Linked DNA regions of Homo sapiens: regions 1 and 2 are each linked to region 3. Evidence: promoter capture Hi-C in human tissues and cell types (Jung and others, 2019). All regions are on one chromosome and are shown on one strand. The core of a region is centred on a gene start or on the middle of the fragment in contact, and the rest is flanking DNA. Distances in the headings are between cores, read along the strand shown. Region 1 has its middle 110 kb from the start of FBXL17. Region 2 has its middle 74 kb from the start of LINC01023. Region 3 holds the start of MAN2A1 (mannosidase alpha class 2A member 1).

Region 1 (4,019 bases), core at 1,073-3,572, 1.2 Mb before region 3:
ATACAGAGAATGCCACAAAGATACTCCTCGAGAAGAGCAACTCCAAGACACATAATTGTCAGATTCACCAAAGTTGAAGTGAAGGAAAAAATGTTAAAGGCAGCCAGAGAGAAAGGTTGGGTTACCCACAAAGGGAAGCCCATCAGACTAACAGCAGATCTCTCAGCAGAAACTCTACAAGCCAGAGGAGAGTGGGGGCCAATATTCAACATTCTTAAAGAAAAGAATTTTCAACCCACAATTTCATGGCCAACCAAACTAAGCTTCATAAGTGAAGGAGAAATAAAATCCTTTACAGACAAGCAAATGCTGAGAGATATCACCACCACCAGGTCTGCCCTAAAAGAGCTCATGAAGGAAGCACTAAGCATGGAAAGGAACAACCAGTACCAGCCACTGCAAAAACATGACAAATTGTAAAGACCATCAATGCTAGGAAGAAACTGCATCAACTAATGAGCAAAATAACCAGCTAACATCATAATGACAGGTTCAAATTCACACATAACAATATTAACCTTAAATGGAAATGGGCTAAATGTCCAATTAAAAGACACAGACTGGCAAATTGGATAAAGAGTCAAGACCTATCAGTGTGCTGTATTCAGGAGGCCCATCTCATATGCAGAGACAAAGATAGGCTCAAAATAAAGGGATGGAGGAAGATCTACCAAGCAAATGGAAAACAAAAAAAGGCAGGAGTTGCAATCCTAGTCTCTGATAAAAGAGACTTTAAACCAACAAAGATCAAAAGAGACAAAGAAGGCCATTACATAATGGTAAAGGGATCAATTCAACAAGAAGAGCTAACTATCCTAAACATATATGCACCCAATACAGGAGCACCCAGATGCACAAAACAAGTCCCTAGGGACCTACAAAGAGACTTAGACTCCCACACAATAATAATGGGAGACTTTAACACCCCACTGTCAACATTAGACAGATCAACAAGACAGAAAGTTAACAAGGATATCCAGGAATTGAACTCAGCTCTGCACCAAGAGGACCTGATAGACATCTACAGAACTCTCCACCCCAAATCAACAGAATATACATTCTTTTCAGCACCACATCACACTTATTCCAAAATTGACCACATAGTTGGAAGTAAAGCACTCCTCAGCAAATGTAAAAGAACAGAAATTATAACAAACTGTCTCTCAGACCACAGTGCAATCAAACTAGAACTCAGGATTAAGAAACTCACTCAAAACTGCTCAACTACATGGAAACTGAACAACCTGCCTCTGAATGACTACTGGGTACATAACAAAATGAAGGCAGAAATAAAGATGTTCTTTGAAATCAATGGGAACAAAGACACAACATACCAGAATCTCTGAGACACATTTAAAGCAGTGTGTAGAGGGAAATTTATAGTACTAAATGCCCACAAGAGAAAGCAGGAAAGATCTAAAACTGACACCCTAACATCACAATTAAAAGAACTAGAGAAACAAGAGCAAACACATTCAAAAGGTAGCAGAAGGCAAGAAACAACTAAGATCAGAGCCGAACTAAAGGAGATAGAGACACAAAAAAATCAATGAATCCAGGAGCTGGTTTTTTGAAAAGATCAACAAAATTGATAGACCGCTAGCAAGATTAATAAAGAAGAAAAGAGAGAAGAATCAAATAGACGCATTAAAAATGATAAAGGGGATATCACCACCAATCCCACAGAAATACAAACTACCATCAGAGAATACTATAAACACCTCTATGCAAATAAACTAGAAAGTCTAGAAGAAATGGAGATATTCGTGGACACATACACCCTCCCAAGACTAAACCAGGAAGAAGTTGAATCTCTGAAAAGACAAATAACAGGCTCTGAAATTGAGGCAATAATTAATAGCCTACCAATCAAAAAAAGTCCAGGATCAGATGGATTCACAGCCGAATTCTAGCAGACGTACAAGGAGGAGCTGGTACCATTCCATCTGAAACTATTCCAATCAATAGAAAAAGAGGGAATCCTCCCTAACTCATTTTATGAAGCCAGCATCATCCTGATACCAAAGCCTGACAGAGACACACACAAAAAAGAGAATTTTAGACCAATATCCCTGATGAACATTGATGCAAAAATCCTCAATAAAATCCTGGCAAACCGAATCCAGCAGCACATCAAAAGGCTTATCCACCATGAATGAGTAGGCTTCATCCCTGGGATGCAAGTCTGATTCAACATACGAAAATCAATAAACGTAATCCAGCATGTAAACAGAACCAAAGACAAAAACCACATGATTATCTCAATAGATGCAGAAAAGGCCTTTGACAAAATTCAACAGCCCTTCATGCTAAAAACTCTCAATAAATTAGGTACTGATGGGACATATCTCAAAATAATAAGAGCTATTTATGAAAAACCCACAGCCAATATCATACTGAATGGGTAAAAACTGGAAGCATTCCCTTTGAAAACGGGCACAAGACAGGGATGCCCTCTCTCACCCCTCCTATTCAACATAGTGTTGGAAGTTCTGGCCAGGGCAATCAGGCGGGAGAAAGAAATAAAGGGTATTCAGTTAGGAAAAGAGGAAGTCAAATTGTCCCTGTTTGCAGATGACATGATTGTTTATTTAGAAAACCCCACCATTTCAGCCCAAAATCTCCTTAAGCTGATAGGCAGCTTCAGCAAAGTCTCAGGATACAAAATCAATGTGCAAAAATCACAAGCATTCTTATACACCAATAACAGACAAACAGAGAGCCAAATCATGAGTGAACTCCCATTCACAGTTGCTTCAAAGAGAATAAAATACCTAGGAATCCAACTTGCAAGGGATGTGAAGGACCTCTTCAAGGAGAACTACAAACCACTGCTCAATGAAATAAAAGAGGACACAAACAAATGGAAGAACATTCCATACTCATGGATAGGAAGAATCAACATTGTGAAAATTGCCATACTGCCCAAGGTAATTTATAGATTCAATGCCATCCCCATCAAGCTACCAATGACTTTCTTCACAGAATTGGAAAAAGCTACTTTAAAGTTCATATGAAACCAAAAAAGAGCCCACATCGCCAAGACAATCCTAAGCCAAAAGAACAAAGCTGGAGGCATCACACTACCTGACTTCAAACTATACTACAAGGCTATAGTAATGAAAACAGCATGGTACTGGTACCAAAACAGAGATATAGACAAATGGAACAGAACAGAGCCCTCAGAAGTAATACCACACATCTACAACCATCTGATCTTTGCCAAACCTGAGAAAAACAAGCAGTGGGGAAAGGATTCCCTATTTAATAAATGGTGCTGGGAAAACTGGCTAGCCATATGTAGAAAGCTGAAACTGGATCCCTTCCTTATACCTTATACAAAAATTAATTCAAGATGGATTAAAGACTTAAATGTTAAACTAAAACCATAAAAACCCTAGAAGAAAACCAGGCAATACCATTCAGGACATAGGCATGGGCAAGGACTTCACATCTAAAACACCAAAAGCAATGGTAACAAAAGCCAAAATTGACAAATGGGATCTAATTAAACTAAAGAGCTTCTGCACAGCAAAAGAAACTACCATCAGAGTGAACAGGCAGCCTGCAGAACGGGAGAAAATTTTTGCAATCTACTCATCTGAAAAAGGGCTACTATCCAGAATCTACAAAGAACTTAAACAAATTTACAAGAAAAAAACAAACAACCCCATCAACAGGTGGGCGAAGGATATGAACAGACACTTCTCAAAAGAAGACATTTATGCAGCCAAAAGACACATGGAAAAATGCTCATCATCACTGGCCATCAGAGAAATGCAAATCAAAACCAGAGTGAGATACCATCTCACACCAGTTAGAATGGCGATCATTAAAAAGTCAGGAAACAACAGGTGCTGGAGAGGATGTGGAGAAATAGGAACACTTTTACACTGTTGGTGGGACTGTAAACTAGTTCAACCATTGTGGAAGACAGTGTGGTGATTCCTCAAGGATCTAGAACTAGAAATATCATTTGACCCAGTCATCTCATTACTGGGCATATACCCAAAGGATTA
Region 2 (3,789 bases), core at 309-2,808, 1.0 Mb before region 3:
ACCTCAGCCTCCCAAAGTGCTGCGATTACAGGTGTGAGCCACCGCGCCTGACCCATTCTACTTCTTTTAGAATATCTGAAATCAGGCCATTTCCCAAATGTTGATGATACTTTCCTGCAGACTGGCAACTAATATTGACTCAATTCATTCTGACCTCTTTATTCCCATGTTAGTCATTGATCTGTACACTCTTCACCCTCACCTAGATGTCTGCAACTTCCTACTTGAATCTACCACCTTCATTCTTTCTCTTTTTCTACTTCTCCCTGTTTGGGCCATTGTACCTCCTTCACGAAACTCCTTAACAACTTCTGATGGTTCTATAGATCAAGTTCAAAGTCTCAATTTTATGGTGTATGACTGTAGCCAGAATACCTACTGTGTGGAGTCAGACCTGAGTTTTGATACCTACCTCTGTGTCTTGAATAATATTACAGCACAGCAGAAAAGTAGCATCACAAAGTAACAAGAATCACAGACTCTGAAGCTAGATCCACTAGTTAAATCCCAGCTCTATCACCTATTGCTTGTGTGACTTAACCTATCCACATGCTTCAGTTTTCCCACCTCTAAAATGAGGGTGATAACATTACCTTGACTCATAGAGTTGTTGTAAGGAGTATCTGAAGTAAAGTGTGTAAAACTTTTGGAGTGGAGCCTGGCAGAGAGTAGATCACGCAAGCTCATATAGATGACTCTACTTCAGAGTACTCCCATGAAGATAAAGTGAGTCAAGTTATTTAAGCACCCAACTTAAATAATAATAGAATATAAATTCCACAGGGCAGATATTTTTGTGGTTTTATTTACTGGTATATAGCAAGACCTGGAACAAAACCTGGCACTATTATCAGTGGTTAACATATTTTAATTCATGTACATGTATCTATTCAAAAATAAATGTTTGTTGAATGAATGGATTGATTAATATTGTCACCAATCTCTCTCTACCAGTTACACCAGACTCTCTTTCTCTCTTCTCTTACCATGTCAGACATCCTAATATTTCAACCCACTTCCGTTCATTGCAGGCTCATTCCTTTCTCCTCAATTCTTTGTTTAAGGCTTTCCCAAGTCAATGTGAAATTCCTTCCTTTTCCTTTAAAAAACAAAACACAAAAAAACCTCCTCCAAGAATCCTTTACACATTAGTCTAAAATGAGTTGCTAATGTTCCCTGAAACCATAAGGAGATAGAAATCCTCCCTCTTCCTAATCACTTTATGCTCTTCCTGCCTATGTTGCTGTACATTATGAGCTGGCTTGTCCTGGATGGGCCACGTTTGGGAATGTCCAGCATGCCCACAGCCCTTCTCAAATGAGATTTTCCCAAAAGTTGCCTTGCTGTTACCTGTGGTCCCAAGTGAATGAATCAGGGCAGGCAATCGATCTACTGGTTAGAGACATTTTAGGTTGTTGATATATGAGCTTTTCCCAAATAGATCTCTCCCAAGGAGTTCTCAATGTAAGGCATTGGAATGAATCATTTGTTTTGGGAACAAAGCCAAATAACAGAGAAGGTAAGATACTGAGGTCATGAATAATCAGAAGCAATGAGAGATAATAAACAGAAGCAATGTGAAAGAGAGAAGGGAATAGAGAGAAGTTGGTGGGAACCAGCAGGATTAATAAAGGCAGAGATTTTAAAAAGCCTCATAGAAGCTAAATGGGACTTTGAGGATCCTTTTAAAAGAGCATAGCCTCGGTCAGCATGCGCCTTTGGCTTTAGCCTTCCTGAGAGTGGAAGTCCTACTAAGAATGGCAGTCCAAGAAGAGATAAGGAAGCTGGTTCCTGTTTACCTAAAACTGAGAAAAGTACTTTCAGGTAATATGGATTTTTCTTATTATGCTTGTATACAATTACTGTCCTTTATTTTTAAACTCTGGACTTCAGGTACACAGAATTGGATTCATCTTCATTCTTGGTTAATGGCATGCTACCATCCTTGGCCCATTCATAGCATGGTCTCATTTTATTTCTTGGTAACATAACAAACACCCACAAATTACCACATAATCCAATAATTAGAACAATAACAATGATTCAACCCTCCCATATACTCTTCCCTATTGCATGCTTTTGCTTTCCTGCCATAAATAATCATTTTCCTAAATTGGGGTTTATCATTCTCTTACTTTTCTTTTTTATTATATGTGTGTATGCTGAAATGAAATGTTGTTTAGTACACATTGCTTTTGAACTTTACTAAAGGACATCATGTTGTATGCAGTCTTCTGAGACTTGCTTTTCTTATTCAGCAGTATGTTACTTGGATTAATACAGCCTGTTGCATGTAGTTATAACTCACTCATTTTCACTGATGCTTAATTATTCAATGGTTAATTTATACATTTCCTAGTCGCTGGGCATTTCGATTGTTTCCAGTTTTTGTTGGTTGGTTGGTTTACTTATTGCTGTTACAGGGTTGCTGTAAACATTCTTGTATATAATTCCTGGTACGTGTTCCTTTGGGCATAGTCTAAGGAGTACAATTGTTGTGCCATAGGTTTATGAATTCTCAACTCTTCAACATAATACCAAATTATTTTTCAGTGTAGTTAAACCAATTAAACTCTTGACATATAAAAGATGCTGTTGATTTATATCCTCTCCAGTACTTGGAATGCCAAATCTCTTAATTTAATTAATAAAGTGGCTATAAAATAATATTTTATTGTAGTCTTTTTTAAAAGAAATGAAGTACTGATAGATGCTACAACATGCATATTTTTAACTAATTAATTTTTTTTTTTGTAGAGACAGGTTGGGGGTAGGGTCTTCCTTTGTTACCCGGGCTGGTCTCAAACTCCTGGCTTCAAGCAATCCTCCTGCCTTGGCCTCCCAAAGTGCTGGGATTACAGGCATGAGCCAACGTAGCCGGCTTGTAGTCTTTTTTTTTTTTTGTAAGTGAATATGTATTACTTGAAAAATCAGGTAGAAACAGTGTAAGTATTACTTATAAAGCCAGCTAAAAAAGCATGTGGAAACAGAAATACCTTGATTCAGAAACTCACATACATGTACATATAAAATCCAAACCTACAAGTTCCCCCACCCTTCAGATCTGGAAAAAAAAATTCTCAATGGTATTTGAGCTGAATATGGGAAAAAGCATAAACTATCTCTAGTTCCTTTTCTAAGCCACTTACTAAGACAAACATAAACTCCTAGATTTTTTTTCTGCTGCACTATAAAGCAGCCCTTCAAGTATATGCAGCCTGTGGCAGCAAGGGGGAAAGGGTCTGGATCTCAGTCCTACAATGCCTTTTAAATTCAATGTTGATTCCATGAGTTGTGTTTATGTGATATCAAAGTAACTATTTTAACTCGGGGGTAAAAAGTGTGTCTTTGGCATCACATAGACAAGAGCTCAAGTTGTTTGATCGAATTTTTCATGTTTAACCACTCAGGTTGGCATTTATAGAAAGAACCCCTCTTCTGCCAGATTACCTTGTGGTTACTTTCCTATTCCCTAGAGGAGCTGTAAATTACTCAGAGAATAAACCGGCAGGTGTTACGTAAACACTGAATACAACTAAACATTCCTTTCAAATAATGTCACATTAAAACTTGAACAAGACTCAAAGAATTTTGCAATATTCCAAAGAAGAAAGCAATATATAGCAGCCTCGGAAATACTGAAATTGCTAGTAAAACAAATCTACAAAATTGACTTTGGAAAAAACAACACCAAAACAGCAATAAGAGCAACAAAAACAATAAAGTTTATGTACAAAGAGAAGCAACCAATGTTAAAGTAAATAAAATATCTTCCTATAACCAGACTTA
Region 3 (3,539 bases), core at 1,040-3,539:
GTTTTCAAGCAAGGCTAGTCTCTTTAGACACTGGAGGGCAACCTACTTCCACTGATAAGAGAAAGAGTTGGCGTGTTTAAGATTGTCGGTTTCATCTGGGTCCAACCCATTTCAAGTATTGAGATTCTATTATTAAAAAATAACACCATTTTACACGAAAAACTCAGAATATGTGTGAATTTAATAGCAGTTATAATTCAGTAACATGAAAATTAAAATTTTGTTTGATTCTCAGCATAATTCTTGTTGCTACAATAAACCAGAGCTTTTGGAATTCTGCAGAATATCTCTGGTTCTCATACCATAACTCTGAGAGTTAAAAAACCTGTGCTTGTCATTTCTCTTTATAACCACTCAAAAGCACGCAAAAGAATCCATCCCACACCAGTCTTTCTAGTCATCTTTATAACCATAGCAGTCAAGTGTAGCAGCCACTTGGGGCCCCAAGGCACAGGCTTCAGTTGGCACTTCATCAGGATCAACCACAGGTAATTGCTTAATTGAGATGCCCAGCATGTCATGAATTACATTTCCCTTTGGCAAGGAGCTAAAGCTCAAAACCTCAATCAAACTGACCTTTAATCCCATCTTTGCAGGTCTATTTCTTGGGACTACTCCCGGGACAGGGAAGGCTTAATAAAAAGAATTGTTAACTATAATAGAGGATTAGAGTAATGAAGGATTCACTAGCAAGAAGAGAACTTTAAAGAATATAGCAACAGCAGCTATAAGGAGCTAACCTTATAACTAACTCTTGGGTTGAGAGACAGAGTGCCCAATGAAGAACCTCCCCAATTCCTCCCAGGGCTAAGATCTAGACGTTTTTGGAGAGGGCATGACCTGGCTCACTGAATGGCAGAGAAGTCACCATTGGGCTACGTCTGCAAAGCTTGTGGAAGATGTGCCCTCTGCAACTTGCTGCAAATGCCTCTAGGGTGCCAGGGAAGTTATTCATGGGGTAGTGTCTCACCTCCTCTACAAAGCTCCTAGAGTTGGGCATGTGAGAGGAAATTGCTAGTTACTGAGCACTATAGGACCTTGGCAGTGGAGAAAGCCAGGTATGCTGCAAAAGCTTATCAATACACAGAAATCAGGAAGCAAAATCCTTTTTTTCTGTAATGTCTCTTCAGCGCCCTCTGCTGATAAAGCTTCAGTCCCAGAAGGCAAACGAAAAACTGTTTAAAAGGCTCAGATCCGTTTTTACAGTGCAGTCAAAAAGGGCGAATTTGGAGCTGAGAGGCAATAAATCAATAACTGGCAGAAGCATCACTTCTCAGATTACACTCATGGATTTCGTAGTCAGATGTTTCTACATGTGCCTGGACGGCCCTTTGTCAGTCTCCTTTCCCCCAGGTTTTAACAGGCTGTCACCAAAGGAGGAAATAGTGAGCCCGAAGAGAATGTGCAAGCCCTCTTCTCTTGCATTTCCTCCAGCCCGTCACCAAGTACTCTTCCAGGCACGCCAGGCCCGAGTGTCCTAGGATAGGAAACCTGAGCAACAAAGGGAAGTGGGGTGTAAGCTCAACCCCTGTTGGACGTGGGGGTGCTGGCGCCTGAACGCCCCCGAAGGCCTCAACTCCCAGAAAGCTGCCTGCCAGGTCACAAGAGCCCTGTGAGGTCTTCCTATCGCCGGGACACTGGGAGGCAGGCGCGGGGCGGGTCCGCCGGGCGACGCGCTGTGATTGGGCGCCGTGGGGCCCGCCCCCTCATCTCGGAGCGTCGGGAGGGGGCGGGGCCAGCCGCCCGCTCGGCTCAGGCGCTGCGGGCGCCTATTGACCCAGCGGCTGCTGCGCCGCCGCTGTCTCCTCCTGCTCGTGGCGGGCGGTGCTGGAGCGCCAAGTGGCGCTGGAGAACCGGCGCTTCCTTTCGCCGCTTCCGCCGCCATCTCCGCGTTTGTGGGGCGGGAAAGAGGGAGGGGGCTAGCGGCTGCAGCTGGAGCGGGCTTCTCTCCGGGGACGGTCCTTTCCTCCCTGCTCTCCTTTTCCTTCTTTCCGCGTTGCCGCCGCCCGCCCCCTGCGCCTCCCCGCGGAGCCTGGGTCCGGGAGGGGGAAGGTAGGGGCGGCGGGGGGCGGGAGAGTCTGGCGAGCGGACGCTAGCTCTGAGGAAACTCATCAATCCGTGAGCCCCGGAGTCCGGGGTGCACATCGGCCCAGCCGCAGCGTCGGCGGCGGCGGCGGCAGCAGCACGAAGGGGCTCAGTCGGGGTAGGCGGGGGCGGTGCCGGTGCCGCGGGGGCGGGCCCGACCGTCCCGCCCAGAAGTTGTAGGGCTTGGCTCCTCGCGATCTTGTTCCTTTCCCCTCCGCTTCTCTGACCTAGCTGCGCGGCCCCGGCCCGGGAGCTGCCGAACCCGCGCCTCCCCTGGGTGAGGAGGACACGCCTGCCCTCGTCGAGAAAACTTTTCCTGCCGACTCAGTTGGGGCGGCGGTGGCAGGAAGTGCGGGCAGCGACCTCTCCTCCGCCTGCCCCGCGCGCCCTGCCGGAGGTCGGCGCTGAGCTTGCGATCAAGTTTGTGGGGGCCCCCCTTCCCAGTTGCCGGCGAGTCTCGCCTCGAGAGGGGCGCCCGACCCCGGGGAGGGCGGCAGGCCAGGGCGAAGGCCAAGGGCGTGTGGTGGCGCCGGAGACTAGGTGCGGAGCAAGGCGGGGACTCGCACCCGCATCCGAGAGCGCGGAGGTCGCGCAGCCCGGGAGAAGGGAGCCTCCGGCGGCTGCTTCCTAGAGTCCACAGTGCGCTGTCTCCTTTGGCTGAGGAGAGTGTCCTGGCCCCGAGTCTATCGAGGAAAATGAAGTTAAGCCGCCAGTTCACCGTGTTCGGCAGTGCGATCTTCTGTGTGGTGATTTTCTCGCTCTACCTGATGCTGGACCGGGGTCACTTAGACTACCCCAGGAACCCGCGCCGCGAGGGCTCCTTCCCTCAGGTAAGCACCTGGGAAGGGGGCGCGGGGCTCCGAGGGGCCAGGCGTGCGGGCCCCTGGTTAGCGGCTGCTACCCAACCTCTTCCTCCCGCCGCGGCCCCACACCCGTGCTGGGCGAGGCCAGGGGCTCTGTAGCTCTCGGACGGCAATGATCACCTCCTGGGAGCCACCTCGCCCGGGCGCGCCAAGTTAACAAAGTGCTGGGCGGCGTGCGGCGGCGGCGGCGGCATCATCCCGCTCAGGAAAGTGGCCATGTTCCGGCATTCGCACCCGGCCTGTTGGGGTGGCTTCGGGCACCTGCTGGCGGGGGAACGGGCGCGGCGTGAGGCACCCCCCGCCAGCCCGGGGCCCGCGTATCCCGGTGGGGTCGTTCTCGGCTCTCACAGGGTTAAGCCGCCCGCACCAGCCCAGAGCCCCTGAGCGCACGGAGTCGCGGAAATGGATCAAACCGAACCCACCTAGGCTTTTTTTTCTTTTTCTTCCCCGCTGCCTCTGAAGAGAGAGAAGTTTATTTCGTGTTGCGGCCCTTTTAGATGTGAATCTCTAGGTTGATTTTAGTGTCGTCATTCTTCAGCTATTACATCTGGTTTGTTTGTGGCAGACAGGGGGAACCGAGTGGGGAAGCGC

What was found. Contacts are between HindIII fragments. The study calls those that stand out against the background at their distance.
Region 1: a contact is called between a fragment that was not itself captured here and the fragment with the promoter of MAN2A1 in region 3, in 1 of the 25 tissues and cell types used here (lymphoblastoid cells).
Region 2: a contact is called between a fragment that was not itself captured here and the fragment with the promoter of MAN2A1 in region 3, in 1 of the 25 tissues and cell types used here (dorsolateral prefrontal cortex).

The regions. Positions count from the first base shown.
Region 1 is chr5:108,492,057-108,496,075 of GRCh38, forward strand. No RefSeq gene overlaps it. Among named protein-coding and RNA genes, the nearest start is that of FBXL17, 110 kb to the left of the region's middle. The HindIII fragment of the contact is 5,361 bases long and covers 1-4,019 here.
Region 2 is chr5:108,652,769-108,656,557 of GRCh38, forward strand. No RefSeq gene overlaps it. Among named protein-coding and RNA genes, the nearest start is that of LINC01023, 74 kb to the right of the region's middle. The HindIII fragment of the contact is 7,306 bases long and covers 1-3,789 here.
Region 3 is chr5:109,687,638-109,691,176 of GRCh38, forward strand. MAN2A1 (mannosidase alpha class 2A member 1) reads left to right here and starts at 2,290. Exons shown (of 22, transcript NM_002372.4): 1 at 2,290-2,915. The coding sequence starts at 2,781. It overlaps MAN2A1-DT (MAN2A1 divergent transcript), which reads right to left and starts at 3,462. Exons shown (of 1, transcript NR_186543.1): 1 at 164-3,462. RefSeq lists enhancers at 946-1,614, 1,374-1,473 and silencers at 1,584-1,873, 1,884-2,403, 2,434-2,643, 3,054-3,153. The HindIII fragment of the contact is 4,319 bases long and covers 239-3,539 here.